Regions from separate parts of the Homo sapiens genome. Here region 2 is linked to region 1. The links are contacts of gene promoters, found by promoter capture Hi-C in blood cells and fetal thymus (Javierre and others, 2016). All regions are on one chromosome and are shown on one strand. The core of a region is centred on a gene start or on the middle of the fragment in contact, and the rest is flanking DNA. Distances in the headings are between cores, read along the strand shown.

Evidence for each region. Contacts are between HindIII fragments. The CHiCAGO score rates a contact against its expected background, and 5 or more counts as called.
Region 2: the fragment with the promoter of PPP2R1B here is called in contact with the fragment with the promoter of NPAT in region 1 in 2 of 17 cell types (monocytes and total B cells); the score reaches 9.1 in monocytes.

The regions. Positions count from the first base shown.
Region 1 is chr11:108,220,179-108,223,887 of GRCh38, reverse strand. NPAT (nuclear protein, coactivator of histone transcription) reads left to right here and starts at 1,250. Exons shown (of 18, transcript NM_002519.3): 1 at 1,250-1,388. The coding sequence starts at 1,352. It overlaps ATM (ATM serine/threonine kinase), which reads right to left and starts at 821. Exons shown (of 63, transcript NM_000051.4): 1 at 702-821. RefSeq lists enhancers at 335-414, 725-884, 1,295-1,354. The HindIII fragment of the contact is 4,203 bases long and covers 1-1,481 here.
Region 2 is chr11:111,764,510-111,768,218 of GRCh38, reverse strand. It overlaps PPP2R1B (protein phosphatase 2 scaffold subunit Abeta), which reads left to right and starts at 1,830. Exons shown (of 15, transcript NM_002716.5): 1 at 1,830-1,971; 2 at 2,835-2,925; 3 at 3,314-3,414. The coding sequence starts at 1,858. It also overlaps a transcript of ALG9 not described here. RefSeq lists enhancers at 1,765-1,814, 1,835-2,014, 1,901-2,804. The HindIII fragment of the contact is 3,920 bases long and covers 1,124-3,709 here.

The DNA of each region.
Region 1 (3,709 bases), core at 1-2,500:
ACACTTTGTGCCTTTACACGCATTTTTCCTTCCATCTGGAAGGCTTCTACCATCTGCCAAGGTAACACTGCGAGGTCTCACCACAAACTGAATTGATAGTCTCAGGCTGAGTTTGCAGAGAACCAAAGTCACTCCTCTACCATCAGAGTACTCCCCTATCACCACATACATTATCATCCACTGTAGTTGTCTTATCTGTACCTGGTAAATACAGCAGCTAACGCTCACGAGTGCTCACCACAGGTCAAGATTATCTCACTTATCTTCACAAGACAGTAGAGAGCGGCCACACGACTGACAGAATTCCAATTCCAGCCGTATGATTCCAGAGCCCAAGCTCTTAACCGCGAGGCTGAAGTTGAAATATCAATAAATGCTCGCTGACTAAAAGTACTAAATACGAGAGAGAGATCAAAAGATGACTAGTCAAGTCGCGTAGTTAAATCTGAACCCTAAGGTGACACAAAAAGAGGATGCGCAGGAGGCAGGGTTCAATTCAGGGCGTTTAAAAGGAGGAGGTTATTGGCCAAGTCCGCTAAGCACCCGGAGAGAGGCCAGGAAAGATGGAGTGAGGAGAGGGAGGAGTCAAGGGCCACTCTGGAGGGGTGCATGAGATTGGCGGTCTGGGGAGAGGACAGACTGGGTCGCACACGACTGAATTTCCCAGCGCAGAAGCCGCTGCGTTGCCTCCGCGCCCCTACCACTGCACTCGGAAGGTCAAAGTAGTATCAACCGCGGCGGTGGCTGCAGCGCAGATCCCGACTCCTCTCGCCTCCTCCCGCGGCCACGGCTTCTTTTCTCCGTTAGCCACGCAGCTACCTACTCCCGCTTCCGGTTCAAACCCTGCGTGACTGCCCAGCGCCCACTTCTGGAGGAAGAAGCAACGCCAAGCAGCCGCAGAGCACGGTATGCCCATGCGCATCCAGTATCACGCGGTCTCCGCGCTCAAAACACTGCCCCAAAACATTCGGCCCGTCGGAGCAAACGCGCCTGCGCCATGTCCACCAATGGCCAGCGACTTAGCGTTTGCGGCTCGCCCTTCGGCTCGGGCTCCGGGGCTCTCACCCACCCTCTTCGCCCTCGTCGTCCTCCCCGCCCTCCTCATCCCCGCCCCTCCAAGTCTGAGGACGGAAGTGACGACAGTTCCGAAGGCGAACGGAGGCGGGTTTCATTTCGGCGCCTTTCTTTCTCTGGCGGAAGCGATTGGCTGCCGTGAAGCGAAAGAGGCGGGACAAATTGCCGCGAGTTCAGTGCCGCCACTGGAACCAGGAGATGCGGCGCAGGAGCTGTCGCTGTGTTTGCTTTAACCTGAGTCTTGTTCCTTATTGTGGTTCCTGCTGTGGTTTTGATCATGTTGTTACCCTCGGACGTAGCCCGGCTTGTATTGGGTAAGCGCGGACGCGGGATGGAGGGTTATTGGACCCGGCTATGCTGGACAGAAGGACCTTTGAGGCCAAAGGTTTTCCCTTGGTAGGGAAGCTTTGGGGTTTTGCCTCCCAGCTTACGAGTTGAGACTGGCGGTGATTCTTCGTCATTCGGAGGTTCTGGGCAGTTTAAGCCTCTTTGTATGTAGATGCTCCTCTCTTCAGAGGCTGCGTGGCGAGGGGAAGCCCGAGGGGAAGCTCGGGGTGGAACACCTGGGGCGGATTCGGAAGGAAAGTCAGGCCTCCACACTTAATTAGGACCCCTGAAAGAGCATTTGTCTGCATGACGGACGGATTGCGTGTGCTTCAACCTTGGGCGCAATTTCCTTGGTTCAGTGTTGGGACCAAAATAGGGCAAATAGGGAGTTCCCCGGCCCCCCATCTTTGTAGAGAGACCTTCCTGGCGCCCTTCTAATAACCCGCCCTTATAACTACGAATTTGGGAGTAGGGGTGATCTTCCTTCTCCATCCTCCACGCAATACGTCGTCCAGTGTAGAGGTGTGAAATGCCAGTTGCATATTTTAAAACAGCAATTCCTGTTCCTTTGATCAGCGAAAAATTTCAGAGGGTTAATTGCCTTAAATTAGTTGAACGTTTTCTAGCCCTAGTTTTACCTTCATTTGAGGAGGGATTGTTTGTGGGTCACTTGTCTGTCAGGGTGTATTGTCTGTGTGAGAGACGGGTTTTGTTGTTGTTTGTCCCCTGAAAGAATAAAGAGGATTGTACTACAGGGGACGAGAGCCAGGTAAAGCTCAAAACCCGAGCCAGTAATTTACGGACGTCGTATGCGACGTCCCTAAAAGTAAATGGCAAGCATCTGTGATGAAACCTCCCATAGTATTCACAGCCATTACTACTATTATTTTATTGTTCGGAAAACCCATTTGTCTTGTGCCTCTTTTAAATGCCCAGCGCTGTCCACAAAAATGTTATTTGCGCAGGGCTCTTGATAAGCACATTTTGCAGGAAACGTTAAACGGAAATGGTTCCACCATCCATTTTTGAAGAAACTTAATGACAAGTTTAATGTTTTGTTAATGTCTGATTAATCTTTTGCTTAAGAATTCTGAGTTTTGGCAGTTTGGTAATCTAGTTGAGTTTCGGTAACTATAGTCTTAAACATGGTTTCTCAGCCTCAGTACTGTTAACATTTTGGGCCTCATAATTCTTTATTGTGGGGAGCTATCCTGTGCTCAAACATTGTAGGATGTTTAGCAGCATTCCTGGCTTCTATTCACTAGATTACAGTAGGACACCCGTTCCCCACCCTACCCTTACCCAGTTGTGATCAGTGAAAATGTCTCTAGATATTGCTAGTATGTCCCCTGGAGGGCAGAATCACCCCTAGTTAAGAAAGCCCTAAGAAAGCAGTATCATTTTCTAATTGAAATAATTCACATCGATGTGTGAGTATTCTTTCTCCACAAACCAGCTACTCTGCTGACTTCCTGCTTTTCATTTAATGGACAAAAAACGCCAGCCATGGTTTTCTTATCTTAAAAATCTTTGTCATTCACATTCCATTTTCACTGCCACCAATCCCGCAATGTGCCTGCCATTACTTCTCTTTTGGACTTCTGTCATGGCTTCCCAGACAGTTGTCCTCGCAATTCATTTTATTTACTGTTGTTACAAATCTCCCTGAAGCTTTCACACTATACCTTTTAGTCTGAAAGTTGAGATAATTCTATTCTTACTAAAAATTTCAGATGGGCAGGAGTATACAATACAAAAAAGCCTCCCCATGCCTAATGCTCTTACTTTTGTCGTTTATCATTTTACATCTTAAATAGATACATATCGTGTATATCTTTCTCATATGAGGTTTATTATTTACTCATGATTCTTTTCCTATCAGTACCCCCTCGCCATCTTCAGCTCCTCTTGTTATTGGTCCCTTCATAATGTTTTTTTTCTAGCAAATCTTTGGGTGCCTAGTATGTTCCAAACACTGTGCCAATTGCTGAACATAGAGAAGTTAAGTTTTCTCCCCTTAGTGTTCAGATAATTAGGTTTTTTTTAAATTCTTAAACATACACACAAAAAAACACTTTTCTGGACCCCACTAGACATTAGACACCCATTAAACAGAACATTCTGTCTTATGTTCTGTGTCACCCTTTCACAAGTCAAATTTATTCAAAGAACAATGAATTCCACTTAGTTGCTGTTCTTCACCTACCTTTTATCCTTCAGGATACTGCACTCTGACTTTTGCATCTCACTACTCCACTTAAGTAGCCCTTATTGCCTTGCTGGGATTTTACAAAATGTTGTGTGGGCC
Region 2 (3,709 bases), core at 581-3,080, 3.5 Mb before region 1:
TTCAACATGCCTATGCCACCAAGTGACTCCTGATATCTTAATTTTCTCACCATTTTTCTGTTACAACTACCAAATAGTGCAATCTCATGATGCATTTGGCTTTCATTTTGTGCATGAAAGTATCATTGTCATTTTAAAACCACCTCTGTTCTTTTCTCATTATCCCAGAACAATAAAAGCAGCACTAAAACACACATGTAAATGTGGGTGCTGAAATTGTGTGGCAATACTTGGTTGTAAGGTGGTCACCCAAATAATTCAGAATATGCTTATACAAATCTAAAAAATATGAAAATGAAAATAAAATTAAAACCCTAGAGAATACATTCGCAGACATAATTTGAGAAAAACTGTTCAGGTCTGCTGGTTCCCAAACTTTCATTACTATCAAAGGCTCTAGCTATTGTGCTTACTTCCAAGAACCCCATTTATTTATTTATTTATTTATTTATTTATTTATTTATTTATTCATTATTTCATTCATTCATTCAAAGGCTCTATTGTGCTTACTTCCAAGAACGCTATTTATTTATTTATTTATTTTAGAGACGGGGTCTCACTCTGCCGCCCAGATTGGAGTACAGTGGTGCGATCCTGGCTCACTGCAACCTCTGCCTCCCGGGCTCAAGCGATTCTCATGTCAGCCTCCCGAGTAGCTGGGACTACAGGCTCCCGTCACCAGCCCAGCTAATTTTTGTATTTTTTAGTGGAGACAGGGTTTCACCAAGTTGGCCAGGCTGGTCTCGAACTCCTGGCCTCAAGTGATCCGCCCGCCTCGGCCTCAGAATCCCATGTTTTAAAAAAGTTTGTCTCCTACACTGCATTTATAGTTTTATTAATCAGGCACATAGAATTACCATTTCGGAGCTTGTGATCACCATATGTAGTTATCACTCCAAGCTGCTTAAATTCCAGTCTAAAACAAACAAAACATTCTAATTATTCTGTGCTACCCTGACAGGGGTAAGTGAAAACTTTCCATTCAGGTTTGTAAGAACGAGCTCCCAGACCTCCACCTCTTCCCCTTGCTGCCTCTGAGGACTCTTGGAGGTCTAGGGAGGCCAGTTTGGGTTTTCTTGCTCAAGAAAGTAGCCACCCCACCCAATTTGGAAGGATTAAAGCTTGTCCTAGTTTTGCTTCATTGTTGTACTTCTAGCATGCTAAAGAGCTAAAAAATGGGAGGAAGAAAATACAACAGAAGGCACCATTCCAGTACCAAACTGAAAAGAAACACAAAAACAAGAGAGCAGCATGTTTTTAACAGCTTGCGTGGAAAAAATATTGACTGGGGAGTTTGGACAGCACTGTTCATTTTCTCTCACCGCCCGCGTTATTTGTCTTACGGAGCAGGAGCCAGATACCATTCTGGAGAAAGAGCCGCGGGAAGAGGTGGAGGGGTTCTGTGGAAGTTTGAGTCTGAGCGGAGAAATTAGGGCTGGAGATCCAGTGGCTCAGGGCCAGGAAGAAGTCAGGGGAGGTGCTAAAGCCTTTTTCCTCCTGGCCTCGGGCACTCTCTTTGGTCCGCCTGAGTCTTAAGAGGGCACAGCGCAGATCATTCAGGTAGGTTCCTGGCTCCTTCAGACTACAACGAGCTGGATGAATCCCTGTCCCTGTTTCTTTCGGCTGGGGAAAGGACGCAGGGGTTCCATTCGCTTTCTTAGCCCACCCGTCTTCTTGAGTTCAGACCTACAACTCCTGCAGTGGGGGTCAGAAGGGAGCCTTAATCATCGGGACAGAAACGCGGCTCCCCAACTTCGGCTAAACCAGCGTGGCGGCCTTCGTCCCTACTGCCTGGGCGCGGGGCGGGGCCTGGGCGCGGGGCGGGAGGCGGTGACCAGCAGCAGGAGGAGAAAGAACATGGCGGGCGCATCAGAGCTCGGGACCGGCCCAGGAGCAGCGGGTGGAGATGGAGATGATTCGCTATACCCGATCGCGGTTTTAATCGACGAGCTCCGCAATGAAGACGTGCAGGTACTGGACTGAGGCCGGGGACCCGAGGCGAGACCGGCTGGTCGCGTGGTAGAGAAGGGGGAAGGCCTGCGTCGCGGTGGGGGTGGCCGAGGTACTGAATGAGTCGGACTCGTAGCAGAAACTTGAAGGGGAGGCGGGGAATGCTCCGCGAGGGGCTGTGGTGACACGCCCCGACCCTCCCGGGTACCTCTCTAGTAACCTTGCTTCGGACCCCCTGAGGCGTCCGCCCGGAGCCTTGCCCTTCCCGGGCGGTTGTCGGGGAACCCGCTTCCCGCCTGGGCGCCCCATCCGGGCCGTGAGGTGGCCGCGTCTCTTGGGCGAGGGAGCAGGAGAAGCGCGGTGCCAGGCCGAGACGGGGCTGGAGCGGCTGAGGGGCGCAGGATGCCCAGAAGCCCTTTGAAGTGCCCCTGGATCCCTTCATCTCGGCTTGGAACTGGCTCGGCTTGTTGGGTAGAAAGCGGGGGTGGGATGGCCGATTAATCTGGACGAGTAGTGTATCCGCTCTGTGGGAACTTTTCTTTGAAACCACAGGTGTTGTATTCAACCGTTTCACCTGCTTCACCACTGCCAAAGTGCTCTCTTTTTAAAATTATCTTACTTCCTAGGTGTTGTATTGTCTTTCCTTCATTTCTCTTCCGGTCCCTTCTGAGTGTTTCTCCTGGGAAATCCTCCGCCGGCTAGTGAGGCCGAGTTACACTTCTTTTTGGAAGTCCTTATGAGCTTCCTTAACAGTAAAATCTAAATGAAAGGTTATCTTCATTCTTACCCCTGTGTCATAATTTCACCTGTTAGCACCTTTTGTCTTTTGATCTAAATTCAGCCGTTTCTTTACATTGTTCTTCTTTCTACTTTCTTTTCTGAAGCTCCGACTCAACAGTATTAAGAAGTTATCAACAATTGCCCTAGCACTTGGAGTAGAAAGGACCCGAAGTGAATTGTTGCCATTTCTTACAGGTATGTGAATCTTTGTTTAAAGAAAGGTAGGGACATTCCATTTTCCAGTAGCTTTCAACACTGACTTTTTTAGAGTTTATTACCCACATTAAAATGAGCCAGGTGTTTTTTGTGCAAAAGAAACAGAACAGAGTATATTGTTAGTTGTGGCTAGATATATTCAAACATCAACCATTTAGCTATTGAAAGTAATTGATACGGGAGTATGAATTTCTAATTCGTTGTGCAAAGCAGATACAGGAAGACGGTTGAGAAGAAAGAAAATGCTGTTAGGATTTTGACTGGGTCACCTTCCTGGTCGCATAGTGAATCTGTTCCTAGTTTTGTGTCAGTGTCCAGCTGTGGGAGAGCTATCCATGTTGATGAGTCCTGTTGTTGTCACTTCCAGATACAATTTATGATGAAGATGAGGTACTATTAGCTCTTGCTGAGCAGCTGGGAAATTTCACTGGCCTAGTGGGAGGTCCTGACTTTGCCCACTGTCTGCTGGTGAGTATTTATAAGCTGCCTACCCTCCTTCTACAACTTTTGCAGTATAAATGATACATTGTTTGGTGATAGACACACTGCAGCATTTTTTATGCAGATCTTTTTATGGGCAGATAGTCATAATGTTAGTCATTGAGAGAATAAGTACTGTAGGCACTTTGCACTCAACTCCTTTTTTTTTTTTCTGTAAATAAGAGAACTTCGTCCTCCTTTTCTGCGTCTGTAGACTTATTAGTTTAGATGTAGGGAGAAAAAGGGTTTGATTGTTTTTATGGTTCCCCCGCGCGATGGTGGA